Linked DNA regions of Homo sapiens: regions 1, 2, 3, 4, 5 and 7 are each linked to region 6. Evidence: promoter capture Hi-C in 16 types of primary human blood cells and fetal thymus (Javierre and others, 2016). All regions are on one chromosome and are shown on one strand. Each heading gives the region's core, a stretch centred on a gene start or on the middle of the fragment in contact. The rest is flanking DNA. Distances are from core to core; before and after follow the strand shown.

Region 1 (2,975 bases), core at 409-2,908, 1.2 Mb after region 6:
TAAGCTTCAGGTCCCATAAAACCTGGATGCTCTCTAGACATAAATGTTAAGGTCTACTTAAAGAATGTCTTATTGTGTACCACTGAAATATGAAGCACACTTAGGAGATAATTAAATTTATTAATGCAACAGTCCATGTGCTTCCTTCCAACAGAATAGTTCTGAATTATCAATGAGATCATTGATGGGAAAGCACTCTGAAAAGTATGAAGTGCTGTATCAATGCAAACTATTATCTTTATTATCCTTTTAAATACAACCAGCTGAAGTTCTCAACATTTGTTTGATAATTCTTTAGTGATCTTCCACTAAGTGCATGGCACTTCAGGGGCTGTGGAGGGTATAAAGATGAAATACATCCAATACTTGCCTTCAGGGAGTTCATTGTTTCCAGGATGAAAATACTGTACTGAACACAGAATTAAAAGAGAAACTCTATGTCAGTGAATTTCAAACTTTTTTTATTACAATTCACATTTTAAAGTGGAGACCATGGCCCAATAAAAACATATACATGCACACTTACAAACACACATATTCATATACCCACTAAAATTTCACAAAAATATTACATTTACTATATACTATACTACTTTTCTGTAGTTTTCTATTCTATTTTACTTCAATCTTTAAAATGCTGATCACAACTTTTTAAATAGATTTTATAACCTCCTAATCAATCACAACCTACCATTTGAGAAATACTGTTCTATATGATAATTTTGTCCTGCTGAGTATATGGACTTAAAAATCCATGAACATAAACTCAATGAAAATCTCCATTAGCTCTAATAAAATTTGAAGTCCACTGGGTGAAAAACTAAAGACATTGAAGTCCTACAGACCCCTTTGCCAATTATTCATATATATTTTATTAGATCAGAGACATCAGCTGTCCTTCTATATACATACATACACACATATGTGAGAGCACACACACATATGCTCTCACACGCCTTCTCTCCCTGTATCTATATGTTAAATTTGATTGCTTTTGCACAGTGACAACTGCAGTGAAAGCTCCCTGCAGGGAATCACAGGAGTCTGAGTGAAAGGGTTATTTTAGTGGTTCTTCACTATTCAAGAATTACACTGAGGCACAAGAGCTTTCTGACAGGACTTGGCAAGCTTTGCATTGTAGTCAAGATTGTTTATTCTGTTGGCAGATTTGTCATAAAGGGGTTTGGTTCTTTTCTAAAGTATGTTGTGGAAATATGTATTTATAAGTATTCCATAAAATATTTTATATTTATTTTATAGAATGGATATATAGAAATGCTTTCTTAAGTCCTTATTGGCAACATTTGTACGTGAGCTTTTATGTATGTGCCATTATAATGGTAAACATTTACTTAGAAAATGCATCATGTTGATGGAATAATGCTGAGATCCTACCTCCTCACCACAGAACTTACTTGCATTTAAAATTTACTTCCCATCATCAACTCTAAGTGTGTTCAGAAGATGATTCACAAGAAAAGATACAGTCACAATAAAAAGAAAATGTGGTTTAAAATAAAATATTAATAATTTTGTATTCTAGTTGATAAACAAAATGTTTACGCAATGTATTTCTCTCTTTGCATATGAATGAGCGACGATACCATTGCCCTTCTTTGTATTTTGCTCTTCATCAGAATTCACCAGAAAATTCACTCCCTTTGGCCATTTCAAGCATGGGCAAAACTAGGCTGGAGTAAGGGCTGTGACCCAACAACTTTGGGGCATCCAAGAAACGTCCCTGGTATAACTCCTGGAGTCATCATGCACAATAACTTGTGCTAGTTGCTTATAAACCCTCAGCTGGTTTAGCCGTGCTACAGTGCCATGGAGACTAGCTACAGAAACATTTAGTGAGGTGGTCATCAGGAGGTGAATAGGATGAAGGGATAAGGAGGTGGGGGAAATTAGAAATATATGATAACCTGTTGTTGATTGAACAATAATTTTCTTGCTGTTAAATTAGTAATACTGCACTTCCCAGTCTCCAAAATCTCTATTTTTTCAGTTCATCGGCCAAGTTCATTTTTGCTGTAGCCCACTGTTTCCATAAGTTCTGTTTTTCTGTGTCCTAGTCTTTCCGACATGACTCTTTCAGATCTTCTAAGTCTGCTAAATGCTGTTTCTTCTAATTGAAATGTTTTCCCTTACTCTCCAAAACAAAAGGCTCCTATTTATCTCTCAAGATCAAGCTTAGATATGTGTCCCTCTGTGAAGCCTCTTCTGACCAAGTCCAGTAGAACGAATCACTCTTTTTCTCATACCATGATTCAAATGAGTCTTGCATAGTATTTCGGTCTTTTCTTCCTCTTCTACTAGATTACAAGCTTCTTGAGAGTTGAATCTGTGTTATGTTTTTATTCTATCCTCAGTGCCTCCTATAGAAGCTGGTTCTAGGGTACTGAATTGATTTGTTGATTAATTAATCTATTGATTATTGCGTCTGTCTTGGGTTCTCTGCTGTTCTTGAGACCCCTACTTTATTCTGAAGCACTTTTTTCTATTCTTTCTGAATTTTCAAAAATGTATTTATTAGTTCATGAGAGCAGCTTGTACCTATTTTGAAGTCTGTCTTCTTTACCAAAAATTTAAGCTGTATCATGACCCAGTCTCACTTGAGAATTGTTACCATCAATGGTGGATGATACCACTCTCTGGAGTATGTCTGTATTACTTTGTTTCTTTCTAATGATCAGAGATAAGCTATTTTGAAAGCTTTTCTCGCAACTATTACTTTTTTTTCTTACTGAAAGATTTTGCAATTAGAACAGATAATCTAAAACGACATGGGTTTATAAATAAAATCAGGACAGCAATTTGTTACTGTTTCTGCTGAATTTGAGAATGCTTTCCCCTCTAATCCAGCCATGTTCTCTGTCTGAAGATGAAAAATTTTAATTGTCAATAGTCCCTAAGTTGTCATCATGATTTCTCAGTAATTGCTAATTCTCTGCAGGTTTTTTCCTATCTACTAT
Region 2 (3,166 bases), core at 67-2,566, 1.2 Mb after region 6:
GGAAAGTTGTCAATCCCCAAATGGCCAATGGGTTTCATATGTAGCAAATTTGGCTGGCAAAAATACCAACGCAAGTTCAACAATACTGGACCACAAGTGCCTGAGGATATTTTTTAAAGATTAGTAAATCAGGGGTTTGCTTTTGACCCTGATCTTTATACAGAGTTAACACTTCTTCATCAAACAAAAGTGTCTTTAATTTGAAGAAACTCATTTTTACAAATTTTAAAAATTTATTAATCATTTAATGCCTGCTCTCTGCAAAGCACTGATCTGTGCTTTTTGGAATATGCAAAGTCTAGCAAGTGAGATATCCTAGTTGGATCTTCTAGTTACTGAGCTAAGCTACATTTAAAAATAACCATAATACAAAGACTGAAATGATGTGATGGAATGCAATACGAATTCTGAAGAGGGAGAAACCACTTACACTTGGAGAAATAAGGGTTTATGAAGGACAGGGAATTTAATGTGCATCTTGAAGGATGGGTCATGTTTTTAAGATTATCACAGGTGAAGGGAAGAAAACACCCTAGAAAGAAAAAGCATAACCAGTTTCTAGCTGAGGATGGGAGTTGAAAGGCTGACATCATTACTTGAGATAGGGAAAAAGGCACCCATATTTTTTTAAAAAGGTGCACCCCTTTAATTACCTTCTCACCTCTCTCATAGTATTACCTGTATCAAAGTCTTACTATTGTTTTAATCATGTATTTTATTATGCTTTTTCCTGTATATCGCCATCATACACTTAACAAGCAGCATGACAACATATTACCTTAAAGTTAATGTAAAGACACCTCTTATGTAAACTATACTTGGAGAAACACCAGTCTTCCTATATCCTCCCCCAGCCGCATCCCAGGGAACAGAAGCATAGAGCAGTGAATGTACAGAGTACCTAATGAACACAAAAAGAACCTGAATTTCAGTGGAGCCCTGAGTATGTGAAGGGTGAAATAGAAAATAAAACTGACAGACCTGGGTAAGGCCCAATCTGTAGGAGCCTGTAGGTCAATGCTGCCTGCTATCTGTTTTTGAAAGAAAAAAAAATGTTTATTGGACATAGCCATGCCCATTTGTTCATATACGGTCTGTGACCACTTTTGTGCTACAGTAGCAGAGCTAGATAGTTGAGGCAGAGACCATGTGGCCCACAAGCCTAAAATATTTACTATGTGGCCTTTAATTTTAAAAGTTTACCAAAGTCTACCTTAGCTAAAAACGTTTTAGTGTGCAAACATTTTTGTGTAGACAAAATAGATACAGTAATAAATTTAAATGGCAGAGGGGTTTGAGCAGAGCTGTTCTTTTAGAAGAATCATCAGGTTGCTGTGGCAAGACAAATTAGAGGTGAAAGATGAGGAAGAGCTGAAAGCACTTAAAATTATTTTTTAAACATGTAAAATTTACTATTATTGTATTGCTTTTTATTTTGTGCTCAGTGAAATATGAAAACCTGGAAGGATCCAAAAATTGTACATTTAAAAGCAGAATCACAAGAATGACACTGAGGGTGGGAAGGCAAGGGAATTTCCATGCCTCAGAGAAGTGTGTGTAGTCTGAAGGTCAGCTGTGCCTGGAAAAGCAGCAGAGACTGGGCGGTGGTTGTACATGAGACAGTGGATGGGAAGGTTGAGACAGAAGAGCCCTGGGGGAATCTCACTGTTGGAACAGTGTCCCACAAGGTCATGACAGTAGATAATGAGCCTGCCACTTCTAAACCAAAGTTTTCAATTCAATCCATAGGGTTTACCCACAAGAAAGAAAGAAATTTGATTTTAGTAACAGATGCCAATGTGAACTAGATAAATACTAAAGGAAACATATTACTAAGCTAAAAGGGTCCCATGGAAACTACAGAGGGGGTCATAAAGGACTTGTGGATGAGACTGGAGTCTAATGCAAGACCCCACACCTGACACTGAGAGGACATTTCCTGGAGATGATATGCTGGGAAAATTCCTCAAAAGATGTCTTTCACAAGAAGGGCCCTTGGTTTATGAAGAGTATGACTGGGAGAACAAGATTTACTTTCCAAAAATGCTACTTACAAGCTAGTTTTTTGGGATGTCTCAGTTCCATACAGTACAATATCCGTATTGCTTATGCTGATCATATTCCCATCTCCTCTCTGTCCAAAAGATTTTGCTCTCATGTTAACCACAATTAGACTAAGAAAAGGCTGAAAATGACTATAATAATTATTTTGAAATTATAGTAAACTTTTTGATTGATAATCTAATGAAATAATATAGAGAAATAAAATGCAATGCATGGTCCAACCAACCAGCTGTTGTTTTCGAAATTCTGACCTTGAAAATTTGTATTTTAAAGGTGTTCATTAATGATTTCTCGTTTGTGGTACAAATATTAAATATAAACTCAAGGAGCCAAGTAGACCCAAGCATCAATATGTAGAGTCTATTGCAGATAAATTCAATGTACCTTGAAGTGAGCAGTTTAAAACTCATTGAATTTCTGATCTTTGAATTAATGCCTTTTTTGCTCATACATGATATAGTACGAGAAGAATCATGTGGCAGTCAAAACTATTAGCTAACCAACTTGATATTTTCACCATTCATCATTTCCTTGACACTTCTATCGAAATGGTTTTCCACCCTGAATTAACAGTCAAAACAGAGGACTTCACATAGAATTTTAAACTGCATTCATGTTAGATGGTATCATAACACAATACCAAACTCATGAGATCAAACAAATAATTTATCTTTTCCCTGATGCAGACTTAAGATGTGTATCATCCCTTGTAACTGGTAATATTTTTACACAAGTAACTTGTAGGACATAAAGTACATTGACATTTTTTATACATAACTCTATGCTGGGATTTAAACTGAAAGCTTGTTCCATCGGGAAACAAGGCAAAAATTGTTTTTAAGTCTTCTTGCTGTGGCTTAGTAAGAAATTCAACAGTGTAGACAAAAAAATTAACTGTCTAAACTAAATTTCTGAAGAAATATAATAAAATATTTGCAATCACCCCTGTGCTAAAAGCTGGGAGCTATTCCATTCACAGTTTATGAGGAGGGTGGACCCTGTAATTGTGTCTAATATTTAATATTTAATACTCTTGATCCTAATGATTTGGGCAAAAGCTTTGGAGTTTTTTTTTTTTTGGTATTTTTTCTCTCCCTTTCTG
Region 3 (3,040 bases), core at 235-2,734, 1.1 Mb before region 6:
CTAACTACATACAAATGTAATGAGGTTGGAGTAGAAAAGCACATTAGCAAATAATTATCCAAATGCCATTTGTATTTGGTTCTGAAATGTACTGTAGACCTATTGGCAGCAGGTTTATCTTTACAACTGGGTTTTGCTTAGGCTATTCTCAAAATAGCTTTCCAGCAGCACATACTGAGTAGACAACAGAGGTTGCTTGATCTAGTTTTTGGAGACTGAGGAAAACATGTTTGTTGAGCCTATCTTGATTGACAAGATAACTAGAGGCAATACGGTAAAATGTAACACTGTGCTTCCAATGTGTACAAACGGCTCAGCTAAACTCCCTGAACACAATCCACCTAAACAGTCTAAGCTCAATAGCCGACCGAGTTAAGCAGGATGACAGCTCCAGTAACTTCCTCTTCCTCACCCAGCTCCTCAGCTCGGCGGCGCGTACACGCCTCTCCCCCTAGGAGGCAGGATAAAACAATTTCAAATGCACAAAATCCATCCAATCCCACAGGCCAGGAAAGCCAGTTTCCCTTTCTTCCTCAGCCCTTCCAAGAAAATGTTTGTCTAATTAAAAAAAAAAAAATCTTACCAACGGCAAAGTATTTGCAACAAAAATCCAAAATATTTACTCAGTCCCTCCACACAGCCTTAGGGGAAGGATGAAAAGAAGGGAACACGACACCGCGTATTCCCAAGACTGACTGTTCTGATTCACTTTCCTCCCTCGGGTCCCACAGCCGGCCGGGCGAAGGCTTGCAGTTGGAACGCCAAAATAAGCCTTCGCCTCTCAGGAGACGCGGAGGCGGCCACGGCGACGGCAATCGGCGAGTCCCGCCTCCGACCCTCACCTGCCCAGGCCCGAGGCAGCGCCGTGGGCTCGCGCGGGCTCGCCGTCCCGGGAGGCGTCCGGGGAGGTGGGCGGGCGCCCAGGCAGTTAGGCCGCGCTGCAGGCCGGCGCGCTTCCTGCCGCGGCCGGGGAACGGCGGCCCCGGGATCAGCGGCGCGGCACCGACCAGCAGCTCTCCCAGCCCCGCTGCCGCGCGTGTGCCGCACTCACTCAGCCCTCCCCGGCCGGCCCCCTAGGAGCAGCTCTCACCTGCGAGGCTCGGGAGCCGCAGCCACAAAGCGGGAGGGACACGCCACTCTGGGGTCCCGGCCCCGGGCCACCCCCGACACACACACACACACACACACACACCCCGGAACCTTCGCCCGCCTCTGAAGAGACGCGGGTCAGCCCCGCCGCCCCCTCCAGTCACCCGACACACACCCACTCGCCGTGGGTCCTCGGGCCGCCTCCCCGCCCGCCAAAGTCCCAACTCGCACACCCACACGCACATTTGTCCCTCTCCCACCTCATTTCCCCGGGGACGCGCTCCTCTTCCCAACACTCTCGGTCCTACTCGGAGGCAAAAGAACACTCTACCTCATTCTCTTCCTCTGGCCCAGAAGCAACAGCAGCCATTTCCCCGCGGCAGGGGAAACACACACACAAACACGCGCGCGCGCGCGCACCAGGCCCCCACAGATGCTTCCCCTCCAGAGCCGCGGCCGCAGACGCAGACGCAAACACAAACACCCACGGCGGGCCTCGCTCCCGCCCGCCCCGAGGGGAAGCCGCGGCGGCACACAGGGCCCGTAACCGGGGCTCGCGGGCGGGCGCGCAGGGAACCCGGGCCCGGGGTCTCGGGGGGCCCGCGCCCCCTCCTCACCTGCATTCAGCGCGCCGGGGTCCGGGCGGCGGCGGCGGCGGCGGCGACGGGGCGGCTGGTGCTGGTGCTGCGGCGGCGGGGGAGGCGGCGGCGGCGGTGGCGGCGGGGCTGAGGGCAGCAAAGACATGCAGGCAGCCCGCCGGAGGGGAGAGGCACCGGCCGGAGGGGATGCGGGGCGGGCGGGCCGGGCCGGGCCGCCTGACGAACGGCAGAGGCGGCGGCGCGGAAGGCGGCTGAAGGGAGCGAGGAGACAGACCGGGGGTCGGGAAGGGGGACGAGGGCCGCGCCGCCGGGCTTCGAGGACAGTGACCCCAGGCGCGCAAGAGAGGCCCCGCGGCCGCGGCCGCCGGCGCGAAGGCCCCAGCCGAAGGAAGCTGCGCCCCCGCAGGGCCGGAGCCGCGGCTACTGCTCCGAGAGCCACGCAGAGCCTGGCCTTGGCCTTGGCCTCCTGGTGCTGGGGCTGCCGCCGCTGCGGGGGTTGCCGCTGCGCCGGGTGCTGCTGGGGCCGAGGTTGAACAGAGACGCCAGCTTTCGGTGCCTTCGCTCCCGCTCACACACGTTCACACCCCCGAGGGCCGGGGGAGAGGCGTCCGGGCGATATCGGTATTGAGATTAATAACAAGGTGCAGAGAGTGCGAGAACGAGGAGGGTTGATTGACGTGGAGGGGCTGGCGGGAGTCAGTCACTCCCCGGCGCGGAGGGTTGGGGTGAGGGGAAGGAGGCGGGGCGGTGACGGGGCGGAGCTCCTACGCAGCGCCTTGGCCCCGCCCCCCGTGCGCCGCGTTTTGTCGCGGTGAGCGCGCGGAGGCCCGGGCTTCTTAATGGTTTTCTGTTTTGCTCTGGCTGTTTTCTCACTCTTTTTTCCTGGCCTGAGCGAGGAGCGGGGCTGAGAAGAGTGGTAGAGTTTCAGAAACCCACATCCACAGAGCCTTGGCGAAGAGACGGGAAACCGCCTCACCCCGGGTTCTTGTGTGGGCGCTGTTTACTGCACCCTCCTCGCCCGAGGCGACCTGACAGCGAAGCAGAGCGTAGGTCTAGGTGGCTGAGACGCCAGGGGAGGTGAAGTGACCGAAGGAAATGTTTCCTGACATATTCGGTGGATTTTTTTTAAAAACATATAGCATCTGTAAGTTGTATCGTCAAAGGTAAATAAAAGAACCTGTGACGCTCAGCGATAACCCGGTCCTATTTTCTAATTCTCCCTTCTCGTTGTAGACTTTAGTTTGTTGTTTGTAGCTTATCCATGCCATCTACAGAATGAAAACATCCAAATGCAAACTAGAAATAGTAGTGTTTACTTGGTGAACCTGGCTGTGATACTTTAAGTTTCTGGG
Region 4 (3,109 bases), core at 560-3,059, 1.1 Mb after region 6:
CTATTAATTTCTATGCAGCCTCAAATACTTTTTTGAAAGAGACAGGAATTGAACAAACAAAATGTTATATTAAAGCCCTGGTTTTCTTTAATTGAGAATTGGGGGACCAAATTCCATTATCAACTGGAGGGAAAAAGAGAAAGAGAGGAGGCACACAAACACCATATATATATATATGGTGTTTTCCTCGCTTTCATTTAGAGGCTTCATATATATTGGAGACAGAGTTTCACTCTGTCACCCAGGCTGGAGTGCACTGGCACAATCATAGCTCACTGCAACTTCAAACCCCTGGACTCATGCAACCCTCCCACCTCAGTCTCCCAAGTAGCTGAGACTACAGGCATATACCATTATACCAGGCTACTTTTAAATTTTCTATAGAGATGTGGTCTCACTATACTGCTCAGGATGGTCTTGAACTCCTGGCCTCAGGCAAGCCTCTCATCTTGACTTTACAAAGTGCTGGAATTACAGACTTCAGCCACTATGCCCAGGCTTGGCTAATTTTTTAATGTATGAAATTAGCACTTTCAGCTCTATTTGTATCTCCCTAATTTCTTTGCTGAGAAGGGCAGGGAAGGGAAGGAGAGGGGAGAAGAGGAGAGGAGTGAGGAAGGGAAGGGAAAATAGCCACCACAACTGCCATGCACTGTGCCATATCAGTAGCTTTTCTCTGAAACACTTTGGATGTGGAAGGTATGCAAGGCATTATAACTAAAATAAAGATAGACTGAAATCATGGTGTCATAAAACAGTCTGCAGGGAATCCTGAATTGACCAACTAACAATGAAGGCATAATTTTATTTTCAGTATCTCCTACTTTTTCTTTCTACGATGTGTCTGTACAGTACTTGAACTTTCCAATGCACATTGTCTTAACTTTCCAGATTTCAAAGCTCTTTCAGGATTTCAGTCAATGAGTCTACACTCATCTGTTGAGCATCTGTTGTATGTGAACACCGTGATTCTACACAGTGATGTGAGAATTCCTCACACTCAGTCCAGGGGTCACTCACATAAAGCTCTATATATGCACTGTGGTTCTCCACCCTGGCTGTACACTGGAATCATTTGAGGGGATTTTCAAAAGCTCTTCTGGACTCTATTTGAAGAGATTCTAATTCACATGTTTGTGTTGGGTCAGGGTTATCACTGGCCTTTGAAAACTCCCCAGAGTATTCTAATGCGCTGCCAGGATTAAGAACCTCTGATCTAACCTAATTTTAAAACTTTCTTGTGTTATTGGAATGCGTTTTGAATTACCTATTTTGCCAGTCATTGCTTCTGTATGAGAGTTTTGGGTAAATAGGATAATCTCTTAAACCATAAATAGTTTCTGGGATGGTATGGATGAAGATGTGCATGAGCTTATAGACAGAATAGAGATTAGTTCCAAGCTCAACCTTGTTTCTTCATTTATAAAATAGGAATATAAATATCTCCCCCATGGGGCCACTGTAAGGATTCATTACAGTATATTATTATAAATGTCCTATTTTGTTATTAGTTATGGTTGTTAATCTCTTACTGTGCCTAAATTATAAATTAAGTTTTATCATAGGTATGTATGTATAGAAAAAAATAGTATATATAGGGTTTGGCACTACCTGTTGTTTCAGTCATCAACTGGGGTTCTTGGAACAGATCTCCTTCAGATAAGGGGAGTCTAGTGTACCCCAAAATTAGTGGTTATCAGCAAAATTGATTGTTTCTCATGGCACTGTGCATTGAATGAGCAGTTCTCATGCTTCACATGCTGCCAGTTGAGCCACTGGAATGGCTAGAAGCGGAATGCCTTCACATGGTTAGCAAGTCGGTGCCAGCGCTGATACTGGCTGTTGCCTAGGAGTTCAGCTAAGACTGTTAACCAGAGTCTCGATTCTCCTCCACATGGCTAGGTTGGGCTTCTTCCTAGCATGGTGGTCTCAGAGTAGTCAAAGTTTTCATATGACAGATGGTTTCCAAGAAAACAATAGAGGAAACTACCATGCCTTAATAAATCTTAGGCCTGGAACTCAAACTGGCAGTTTCATGTTCATGTCTGCTGCATTCTATTGACTGAAGTAAATAAATCGTAGGCCTAGACCCAGATTTTAAAAAGTAAAAAGTGTGTGTGTGCCTCTGTGTGTGTGTGTGTGTGTGTGTGTATTCTATGCTTCATTGGAAGCCACCAAAGAAATAATCTACCACTAAAACAAAAAGCCTCACACACTCATGTTGTCAAATGCCAATTTATATAATTGCAGGAATACTATAGGTATTTATATCATAAGTAAATTATTTTCTTTACTCTCAATAGATTATTAGCCACAGACTTAATCTGCTTGAAATAAACAGTAATTCCAAAACAAAATGTAGCAATACATAAGGATTTTATGATAATTAGCCAATTACACAGCATCCTGAAATGTTTCTTTTAGGGTAAAATTTAATAGATTGAGTAGAATATGAAACGAAAATGTTCTCAAGATGTTATTTATGACTATACAAAATTGCTAATGATTTATAATTCACTTAGAATTCACTTAGAATTGTACTTTACCTGAGCTATTGCATATGAAGAATTTAGTAAAATATGTAATATATAGTAACTGCTCAGTAAACTTTGATACTTTTATTGTCTCCTTCCATTAATAAACCACAAAATTAACCTGAGTAAGAAAAATAGAAAAAAACTGTATGAAGAGAAATATGTTCATTCATATATACCTGCTCTACTTAACTGTGTTACTATATACTACTGCCCTACATACTGCTTAACGGATGAACCTCTAACAAGTAATTTGTTCTCACCAAGTTCCTCAATTTAAAAATTGTTTAAAGGTTTCAAATGAGTGAAAGATTTTTTCTAAAGACACACATTGCTATTGCTAATACATTCTAAAATCTTGGGAACTAATGGGTTTTAGCTGTATCTTACTATAGTCTATGTAAAATATGCTTATTGTTTATTTAACATGTCATTCTAATGCCAACATAGGCCAAGGCTTCTGTGGTCCAGAGTCCAGACCAGCAAATCCAAGGTAGCAGTCATAGATCCAGAAATATCTGCTCACAAAATACCCTGTACAATCTGAATTTTGTCAAAAATATTCTCCAATTTGG
Region 5 (3,085 bases), core at 275-2,774, 1.2 Mb after region 6:
TTGGTCTCGAGGAAATGGAAGACAATGTTTATGATATTATAGTAAAAGAAATGAAATACAGTTTACAGACCCTGTTTTTGCCACTAATCATGCCTTTGCCAATTAAAAAATGAAAACAATGGTGTTTTACACGTAGTACTTTCCACTAACTTTTCACACATATAACCTCTTATAATCTTCTCAATGATCTTGAGAAGACTTATTCTCTAAGATTAACCTCTTGAAATATCTTAGGGCTAAATTTCCTGACCTATGAACAAAACGTCTAAAATCTTGAGGAAAGAATGTTTATAGCAAGATAGCCTTTTTCAAGCCTAGTAACTGTGTTAACGTTTTTTTTTTCTTCTCTCCCTAGAAGAAGTGTGAAGCTCAGGCAACGAAAGTAAGATTTTCTAAAATGCACTTTTTATTGTTTTTCTATAAATTATTTACTTATTTCTCAAGTTTGTTCTAATTGAAAAGTTAACTTTGCTAATTCAAGGTGGCTCAGTCCCTTTCAGATATATCTGAATCTGTTTTGGTTTAAAACTCTGTTTCATGTTTTTCCTCTTTCTCCTCCCCTTAAGGATAATCTAAATTCTAGGAGTCTTACTTTTTGTCTCCAGGATCAGAACTGGAATGTCTATAAGGTATGACATCATCCTCCATCCACACTGGCCAAAGTTGAGTGTTTTGTTCATTCAGGCTTTGGGTACCATTCTGTCCCTTGATGCTTGCCCTGGCTTGGACAGTGTATCCTGTCATACACCAGCCTACATTTAGCCCTTGCTTCTAGAGTACCTGGGGGCTCTGAGAGGTTGTCTTTGGACCTATGATCAGACACCTCCTTCAGTAATGGTCCATTGTCACTCAGGCATGATATTGGACTTGGGACGTCTTTTACTTTGCAGTTTGGGAGCTGCACCCTCTGAAGCTCCATCTGCTATGGATCCCCATACACTTAGCCAGGCTTTCTTTTGTCCTCCCTATGAGGTTTACACTACACACAATGGAAGTAAGCAGGAACTTTTCTGGCACCCATTAAAGCCCTAGTAGGGCCTTCTCAGATTTTTCTTTTGCCACCAGCTGATCAGACTTTCATCTCCTTTAAGTGACCAAAAAAGACCCTGATCCTATATCATCCTGCATTTTTGTCAACTCTATGATGCACAGGATAAATTACATATCCTGTGTCCTCTTGATGTTCAAAATCTACCTCTTGAAATTTTAAGGAAAAATATATTGTCTCTCAAGAAGGCTCATGTAAATCAAAAGCACTGGCTTTTCGACCGCTAACAGTTTCTGGTGTAGAGTAGTAATAGTCTATTTAGTCTACTCTTAGAGTCAGTAATATATAATGATTAGGCACTTGGTTTCAAGGGCCAGAATGCCCAGGTTCAAATCTCAGTGTAAATGTATACTAGCTATTTGACGTTACATAAATCAACCTGTATAGTTTCTTCGTCTGGAAAAAAGAGCATAATAAAGTTTCTGTCTCAAAGGGTTGTTGTGATTAAATAAGCTAAGCACTTAGTACAGTGTCTGGAATATATATAGTGTTTAGGACTGTATGTGGCATATAGTAAGCAGTTTTTTTACTATTAAAATTATCAAAATTATTGTTACTTCAGAACTGAAATAGTCAAGAATTTGACTTAGGTCTTGCTGAGATCTCTTGTGTTTCTCATCTTAAGGCAATAGTCTGCAACCTAAATAGGGAAATATTTAAAGATATAATTCTGCTATAAAGAATTAAATCTAGTAGCTTTCTAACTACTGTGTACCAACCACTTAGACTGTATTGAACACAAACAAGTTGTTATGATGGCTAAAATGGACCCAGTAAAGAATAGCAGTTTACACCTTTTTCAAGTGTATTTAGATTTATCTAAATTTAGATTCAATAAATCTAAAAATAATATCTCATAATTGTATGTACTCTGTGAGGCCTTTCTTGATGAGTACCCTCTGCCTTCCCATAGATTCGCAATACTCCTCCTCCACCATCCCCATATAAAACTAAATGTGATTTCTCTACTTTGAAGTCTCATAACTCTGTTTCTATCTCTTATGTGTACTTTCACTAAATATCAATTACTGTAATTTTTATACTTGTTCACTCTCCCAATTTGGATTGCTGGCAACAATTCCTTTTTCTTTACTGACAGTGTCTGCTGTAATGCTTCATACTAAGAAGGTTACAAATAAATGCTGTTGAAACATCTCTATGAAATGAAGCTAAGTAGTAAACTAAGTAGTAAAGTAAAAATTATAAGAAACACTGAATGAGATAAATGCAATGAATCATAGTAGTTAACAGTATAGACTTTATGTAAAGCTGCAACAGGTTTCAATCCTAGCTCTGTTATGCTGTGACCTTGTACAAAAGTCTGCACAGTCTTTTCATCTTAAGCTGGGGACATTTAAAATCATATGACAGGATAGTTGTGTGAGTTAAGATTATGTGCAAAGTACTCAGCACAGCATTTGGCATATGGTAGCCATCAATTAATAGTAGCTATTAAGCCTGAGGAGGTGATACCAAAAACTTTGTATGTACCTCAGAGTTTTGGCTATATGGGTATTCTGATTAAAACTATTCAATTAGAAAGTTAGAGCCTGTAGTAGGCTGAAAAATGGCCCACTAATATATCCACATCCTAATCCGCAGAACCTGTGACTATTACCTTATGTGCCAAAAGGGACTTTGTAGATGTGATTTAAGTTAAGGATCTTGAGATAAGGGAATGTCCTGGATTATCTTGGCAGGCTTAAGGTAATCACAGGGATTCTTCCCCAAAAGAAGGAGTTCGGAGATTAAAGAGAGAGTAGGAAATGTGAAGACAGAAGCAACATGCTGTAGTGATCGTGAGCCAAGACATGCAGGTAGCCATTAGAAACTTAAAAAGACAAGAAAATGGATTCTCTCCTCAGAGCCTCCATAAGGAGCAAGCCCTAAGATTAATTTTGTACTTCTGACTTTCAGGACTGTAAGATAATTAATACCAGTTGTTTAAAAGCACTAAATTTATGGTAATTTGTCATAATGGCAACAAGAAAATGAATCCAGAGATTATGAAATAAAAATCAAGGTATTACTACTTTG
Region 6 (2,804 bases), core at 291-2,790:
GATCCACAGCAGAACTCAGCTGTGTAATTTACTCATGCACAGGAGGCACTGGGGAGGAAAACGGTAATTACGCTTCAAGTTGTGAATCCTAAGGGCCATCCATTCAAGCCAAGTAGGGATGGGCAGTGATGTCACCTTGTGACCATGAGTCACAGAAACACTTTCATGGCAGGACAAAAGGAAAGAAGGGCAGGAAAAGACAATGCTGGAAAAATCAAGAATCAGACATGTGGTTGCCGCTTGAGCAATTCAACAGCCCACATTCTGGCACTAGGGTTTGCCACTACAGCGACCTGGAGCTAACCAACACCTGTATCTTAATTCTCCTGAAGCAGAGGTCCTGTATTTTAGTACAGGTAGTAAGTTTGGACAGTTACTCCAAGAACTAGAATAGTTATTTTTCAGTTTTGTTTTTTTAAAACACGGATTTTCAAGGGACTGTGGTTTTAAAGGTTTAAAATGATAAAGAAATTTCTTTCTTAGAGATGCTTCTGTGGTGCTCTAGTGGAGACTGGGTGCCCGTTATGAGCTCTCTTTACCACAGTACTTTTCCTACACAGCATTTTTTCCACAATGGTTATTATGTAATTGTGTAATTATCTATTTAATGTCTGTTACCCAGGCTACACCTTAGTAGCTTCATGAAAACAAGGGCCATGTTTGCTTTTTTTTCTGCATGGGCTCCATAAGTATTTGCCAAATGAATAAATCTCGGGTGTATATGTTAACTTGTTTCCTATTATACAGGCACTTATCTGGCCCAAAGCTACTGAATTCCCACAGTGTTGCTCTAAAAAGAAAGGTATACACCGGGCAAATATGGCTCAGCCCCATTTCAATATATATCTCAATGAGCCGAACAAACCGAATAAAGGATGTAAAAGCCCTTTGTAAAGAGCAAAGCGTCATAGGAGAGCTGTAATTATGATCACTGTTACTATCATGATTATTCCGTGGACCAAGTACCCCGGCCAGGTAAGGGGAGATAACGGGGGAGGAGAGGCGGCAAAAAGGGATGAAAAGGATGGGGCGGCGAGGAAATGATGGGCAAGCAGAAAGGCGGGGAAAGCAGAAGGGGGACCAGACAAAAAGGGTGTAGGTGAGAGAAGGGGGCACTCCAGGCGGAGGCAGCCAGACCGTACCTTTTGATACACAGCCTGGACGGCAGGTAGGCCCGGTAGCCGTCGGTGATGTACGGGTTGTCCTTGAGGGACCCGGGGATCTGCTCGTAGGTGTACAGGCGGATGCCACGGGGCACCAGGACCGGCCAGTACTGGTAGCTGCCCAGCTCGATGTAATGCGCGCTCTTCAGCAGCTTCTGATGCATCGTTCCCGGCCGCCGCCGCTCCCCGGCTCGGGAGCTCCCCCAGGTCCCGCCTCCCCGGGGAGGGGGCTTCGCCGCTGGCGCCCCCGCCCCGGAGCCCGCGGACGCTGCGCGAGGTCCTACCGCGCTGCCGCTGCTGCCCAGGGCCCGGCTCTGCGCTCACACCGGCCACTGCCGCCAGCGCCGCGGCGGACCCGGCAGCGTCGCAGCCTCCTCTGACGTCAGCGCGCCGCGGCGGCCCCGCCCCTCAGCCCTAGCTGGGAGGGGCAGGGTGCTGGGGCGCGCCCGGGTGTGCTCGAGCGTGCGCTGGCGGCGGCCCGGGCTCCCGGGCGTCTCTCACGCTGTGTTTTGGCGGCGCCTGGGGTCTTCGTTTGCATATGAGAAGAGCCGAAAGCACAGAGCTACAGGCGAATACAAGTGGATTTTTTTTCTTTTTCTGTTTTTTTATTAGAAGTAATAGTTGCTGCATTTTGAAAAATCAAGAGGAAAAGAGTTAACAGGAAGAAAAGTTCGAGGTAATTACCGTTTAGTTTATGCTTGGAATTACACACACTTAGTGTCAGAAGGGACTTTGAGGATTTCTAAGCTGAAGTCAGCTCTTAGCACGATAATTGGAAAGAGAGGAAACCTGATGCACGTGGAACATACACCAGCATCGAGCACATCCTGAGCCATAAAGGAAAGCCCCCGTGCATTCAAAACTCCGACCCCTTTCAGCGTTATGTTCTCTGATCACAGTAGAATTAAACTAGAGTAACAAGAAAACTAAAAGTCTCCACGTCTGGAATAGGAGCAATACACCAAATATTTCAAGGGCTGATGAAGAAATCACAATGGAAATGAGAATATCTACTTAACTGAATAATATAGAACATATTAAAAAATCCTGTGGAGTGCGGCTATAGTAGCGTTTACAGGAAGTGTTGCAGCTTTGTTTCTGGCTATTTACTGTAATGCAAGTGTTTACTTATAATGGCAACAGGGCAAAACATCAGTTTGAGTACCGTATGTGTATAATAGAACGCTTAGTCCATTGTTTGGCATTGTAAGGGCAAGAAAAATATCTTGTCCTCACTTATCACAAGGTTCACAGCTGACATTCCTATGAAAAAAATTAAGAGAAGCCAGGCGCAGGTGGCTCATGCCTGTAATCCCAACATTTTGGAAGGCCGAGGCAGGCGGATTGCTTATGCCCAGGAGTTGGAGACCAGCCTGGGTAACATAGTGAGACGCTGTCGCTACAAAAAAAACCAACCAAACAAACAAAAAACAAAAATTAGTCGGGTGTGGTGATGGGCGCCTGTAGTCCCAAACTATTCTGGGCTGAAGTGAGAGGGTTGCTTGAGCCTGGGAGGTCGAGGCTGCAGTGAGCCATGTTTGTGCCACTGCACTCCAGTCTGGGTGACAAAGCGAGACTTTGTCTCAAAAAATAAATAATAAAAATTAACAAGAAAAGGGATAATAAATTCATTTAACACAG
Region 7 (2,795 bases), core at 87-2,586, 1.2 Mb after region 6:
GAAGACATATAGATGGCAAATAAACATGTGAAGGAACATCCACTCCACATCATCTCATCAGAAAAATCCAAATAAAAACAACTGTGAGATACCATTATGCATCTATTAGAATGACCAAAATCCAGAACACTGACACTACCAAATGCTGGCAAGAATGTGGAGAAACAGGAATTCTACTTCATTGCTGGGGGGAATGCAAAATGTTGTAACCACTGTGGAAGACAGGCAGTTTCTTACAAAACTAACATGCTCTTACCATACAACCCAGCAATCACACTTCTTGGTATTTTCCCAAAGCAGTTGAAAACTTATACTTACACAAAAACCTGTAAGAGATGGTTACAGCAGCTTTATATATAATTGTCAAAACTTGGAAGCAACCAAGATGTCCTTCAATAGGAAAACTGCCAAATAAATTGTGGTACACCAAGCGAATGGAATTCTACCGAGCACTCAAAAAGAATTGAACTATCAAGTCATGAAAAGATATGGAGGAAACTTAAATGCATATTACTAAGTGAAAGAAGCCAATCTAAAAAGTCTGCTTACTGTATGATTCCAACTATATGACATTTTGGGAAAGGAAAAACTATGGAGACAGTAAAAAGATCAGTGGTTTCCAGGGGTTAGGAAGGATGAATAGGCAGAGCACAGAGGACCTGTAAGGCAGTGAGAATATTCTGCATGACACTATAACGGTAGATACATGTCATTACACATTTGTCCAAACCCGTACAACTTACTACAACAAGTATGAATCTAAATGTAAACTGTAGGGAATAATGATGTGCCAATGTGCGTTCATGAAATGTAACAAATATACTACTCTGGTGGGGGATGTTGATAGCGGGGAAGGCTATGGATGTGTGGAGGCAGGATATACATGAAAACTCTCTGTACCTTCCTTTCAATTTTGCTATGAATCTAAAACTGCTCTAAAAAGTCTTTAAATTAATTAATTAATTTAATTTAATACAAAAGGGTAAAATTTTAAACCAAATCTAACTTCACATGCCTGTAATCCTAGCACTTTGGAAGGCCAAGGCTGGAATATTTCTTAAGGCCAGGAGTTTGACATCACTCTGGGCAACATGACAAAAATTCATCTCTACCAAAAAGAAAAAAAAATTAGGCGTGGTCGCACGCCTGTAGTCCTAGCTACTCTCAGGAGGCTGAGGTGGGAGGATCCCTTGAGCCCAGAAGTTTGAGCTTACTGTGAGCCATGATTGGGCCACCACACTCCAGCCTGGACCACAGATGGAGTCTCTCTCTCTAAAAAAAATTAAAATGAAAGTAAATAAATAAACCTAACTATAGCCAGCTGTGTTAGATTCTCTGGAAACAAAGAATCTAAAAAAAATAAAAAAAGTTTAAAGCTCTACGACAATCATATTTTTTAATGATTTATAAATAAAATGAGGTATTTTAGAATTACTTCATTGGGAAAATTTCTTCCCAAGTCTTTTAGACTTAGACAAAATGAAGACAAATAACCTGTTACAAGTCCAAGGATGGTGAAGTACTCAGAAAAGCCTATTTCCAAAGCGTGTATTGAATAGGTTCACTTTTCTCCATCCTCGCAGCCACTCCATCATGGTCCAAGCCACTATTATCTCTCCCTTGGAAAATTAAATGGTTTTCTATCTAGTTTCTCCTTTTCCACTCTTGGCATTCTTTAACGCACATTTTACATAGCAGCTAAACTGATATTATAAAACCACAAACCTGATAATGATACTTCCCTGTCTACAGGGAAGCGCTTTTAGTGGCTTTCTACTGCCCTTAGGATGAAATCCAGATTCTTAGCATGATGGCCCCTGCCCACACCCCCAGCCATCTTGGGTTATTCTCCCCTCATGTTTTATGCTCCAGGCATATCAGCGTTCTTCCCACTCTTTCCTTCCTTGAGGTCTTTAAACATAATATCCAATTCTTCCTGGAGTGTTCTTTCCCCCACCCATAACCTGGCTAATTCTTAAACATCAATTCTTCAGAGTTGACTTCCATTTCCTCTTCCCCCACAAATCTAGGTGAAGTCTGTTGGTTTGGGTTCTCTGGAAACCAGATTCTGAGATGGAATTAGGAGTGTGGATTGTTTTTGAGGGGCAACGCCTGAACAGGAAAGCTGAGAAAACAAGACTGAGCAAGAGAGAGCTTCAGACGATGATGCTGAAGACACATTCCCTGCCAGACCAGCCAAAAGACCTGGAGCAAAGATTGTACATTGCAAGGGTCTCACATTGGATAGCAATGGCTAATCCCTTACACTACTGCCTTTTTCAGCCACTGACTAGAGTCACCTCTTCAAAGCAGAAGCTAATCCTTATGAAGCTAAAAGCTGAAGATTACCAGCTAGCCACCCGCCTTGGGTCTTGGCGGGAAGTTCTTTCTTTTTTATTTTATAATTTTTTAGAAAATACAGATGGGTTTTTGCTATGTTGACCAGGCTGGTCTTAAACTCCTGACCTCAAGTGATTCTCTTATCTCAGCATCCCAAAGTGTTGGGATTTCAGGCATGAGTCACCACAACTGGCCAGCAAATTATTTCTTTATTTTAAAATTTTTTGAGGTAAAACATCCATATAAAATGCACCATATTTGCCATTTTTAAGTGTACAGTTCAGTGGTGCTCTTAAAACAGTCTTTAAATGTAAGAATACATTTATATTCTTTCCTTTTCCCTTCATCCCGCTTCCTGCTACCCTTCCCACCCTCTGGTAACCACAAGTCTACTTTCTATCTTAATGAGATCCACTTTTTTAGCTCCCACATATAAGTGACAACATGTGATGTTT

Evidence for each region. The method cuts DNA at HindIII sites, captures the fragments that hold promoters and counts their contacts. A CHiCAGO score of 5 or more calls a contact.
Region 1: a contact is called between a fragment that was not itself captured here and the fragment with the promoter of PAQR3 in region 6, in 4 of 17 cell types (M0 macrophages, monocytes, M2 macrophages and 1 more). The highest score is 6.2, in M0 macrophages.
Region 2: a contact is called between a fragment that was not itself captured here and the fragment with the promoter of PAQR3 in region 6, in 1 of 17 cell types (total CD8 T cells). The highest score is 5.7, in total CD8 T cells.
Region 3: a contact is called between the fragment with the promoter of CNOT6L here and the fragment with the promoter of PAQR3 in region 6, in 4 of 17 cell types (naive B cells, fetal thymus, monocytes and 1 more). The highest score is 8.2, in naive B cells.
Region 4: a contact is called between a fragment that was not itself captured here and the fragment with the promoter of PAQR3 in region 6, in 2 of 17 cell types (monocytes and M2 macrophages). The highest score is 9.9, in monocytes.
Region 5: a fragment that was not itself captured here is called in contact with the fragment with the promoter of PAQR3 in region 6 in 2 of 17 cell types (monocytes and naive CD8 T cells); the score reaches 6.8 in monocytes.
Region 7: a fragment that was not itself captured here is called in contact with the fragment with the promoter of PAQR3 in region 6 in 1 of 17 cell types (monocytes); the score reaches 6.7 in monocytes.

The regions. Positions count from the first base shown.
Region 1 is chr4:80,149,947-80,152,921 of GRCh38, forward strand. No RefSeq gene overlaps it. Among named protein-coding and RNA genes, the nearest start is that of PRDM8-AS1, 46 kb to the right of the region's middle. The HindIII fragment of the contact is 1,064 bases long and covers 1,127-2,190 here.
Region 2 is chr4:80,088,693-80,091,858 of GRCh38, forward strand. No RefSeq gene overlaps it. Among named protein-coding and RNA genes, the nearest start is that of ANTXR2, 17 kb to the left of the region's middle. The HindIII fragment of the contact is 3,097 bases long and covers 1-2,865 here.
Region 3 is chr4:77,817,884-77,820,923 of GRCh38, forward strand. CNOT6L (CCR4-NOT transcription complex subunit 6 like) reads right to left here and starts at 1,485. Exons shown (of 12, transcript NM_144571.3): 1 at 1,421-1,485. The coding sequence starts at 1,425. RefSeq lists silencers at 782-1,181, 1,262-1,331, 1,822-1,921, 1,962-2,121, 2,382-2,531. The HindIII fragment of the contact is 6,822 bases long and covers 1-3,040 here.
Region 4 is chr4:80,059,159-80,062,267 of GRCh38, forward strand. The region is part of intron 3 of ANTXR2 (ANTXR cell adhesion molecule 2); the gene reads right to left. Among named protein-coding and RNA genes, the nearest start is that of ANTXR2, 13 kb to the right of the region's middle. The HindIII fragment of the contact is 6,040 bases long and covers 1-3,109 here.
Region 5 is chr4:80,129,342-80,132,426 of GRCh38, forward strand. No RefSeq gene overlaps it. Among named protein-coding and RNA genes, the nearest start is that of ANTXR2, 58 kb to the left of the region's middle. The HindIII fragment of the contact is 6,253 bases long and covers 1-3,085 here.
Region 6 is chr4:78,937,898-78,940,701 of GRCh38, forward strand. It overlaps PAQR3 (progestin and adipoQ receptor family member 3), which reads right to left and starts at 1,541. Exons shown (of 6, transcript NM_001040202.2): 1 at 1,143-1,541. The coding sequence starts at 1,327. RefSeq lists silencers at 1,071-1,140, 1,231-1,720. The HindIII fragment of the contact is 16,646 bases long and covers 1-2,804 here.
Region 7 is chr4:80,111,298-80,114,092 of GRCh38, forward strand. No RefSeq gene overlaps it. Among named protein-coding and RNA genes, the nearest start is that of ANTXR2, 39 kb to the left of the region's middle. The HindIII fragment of the contact is 4,380 bases long and covers 1-2,795 here.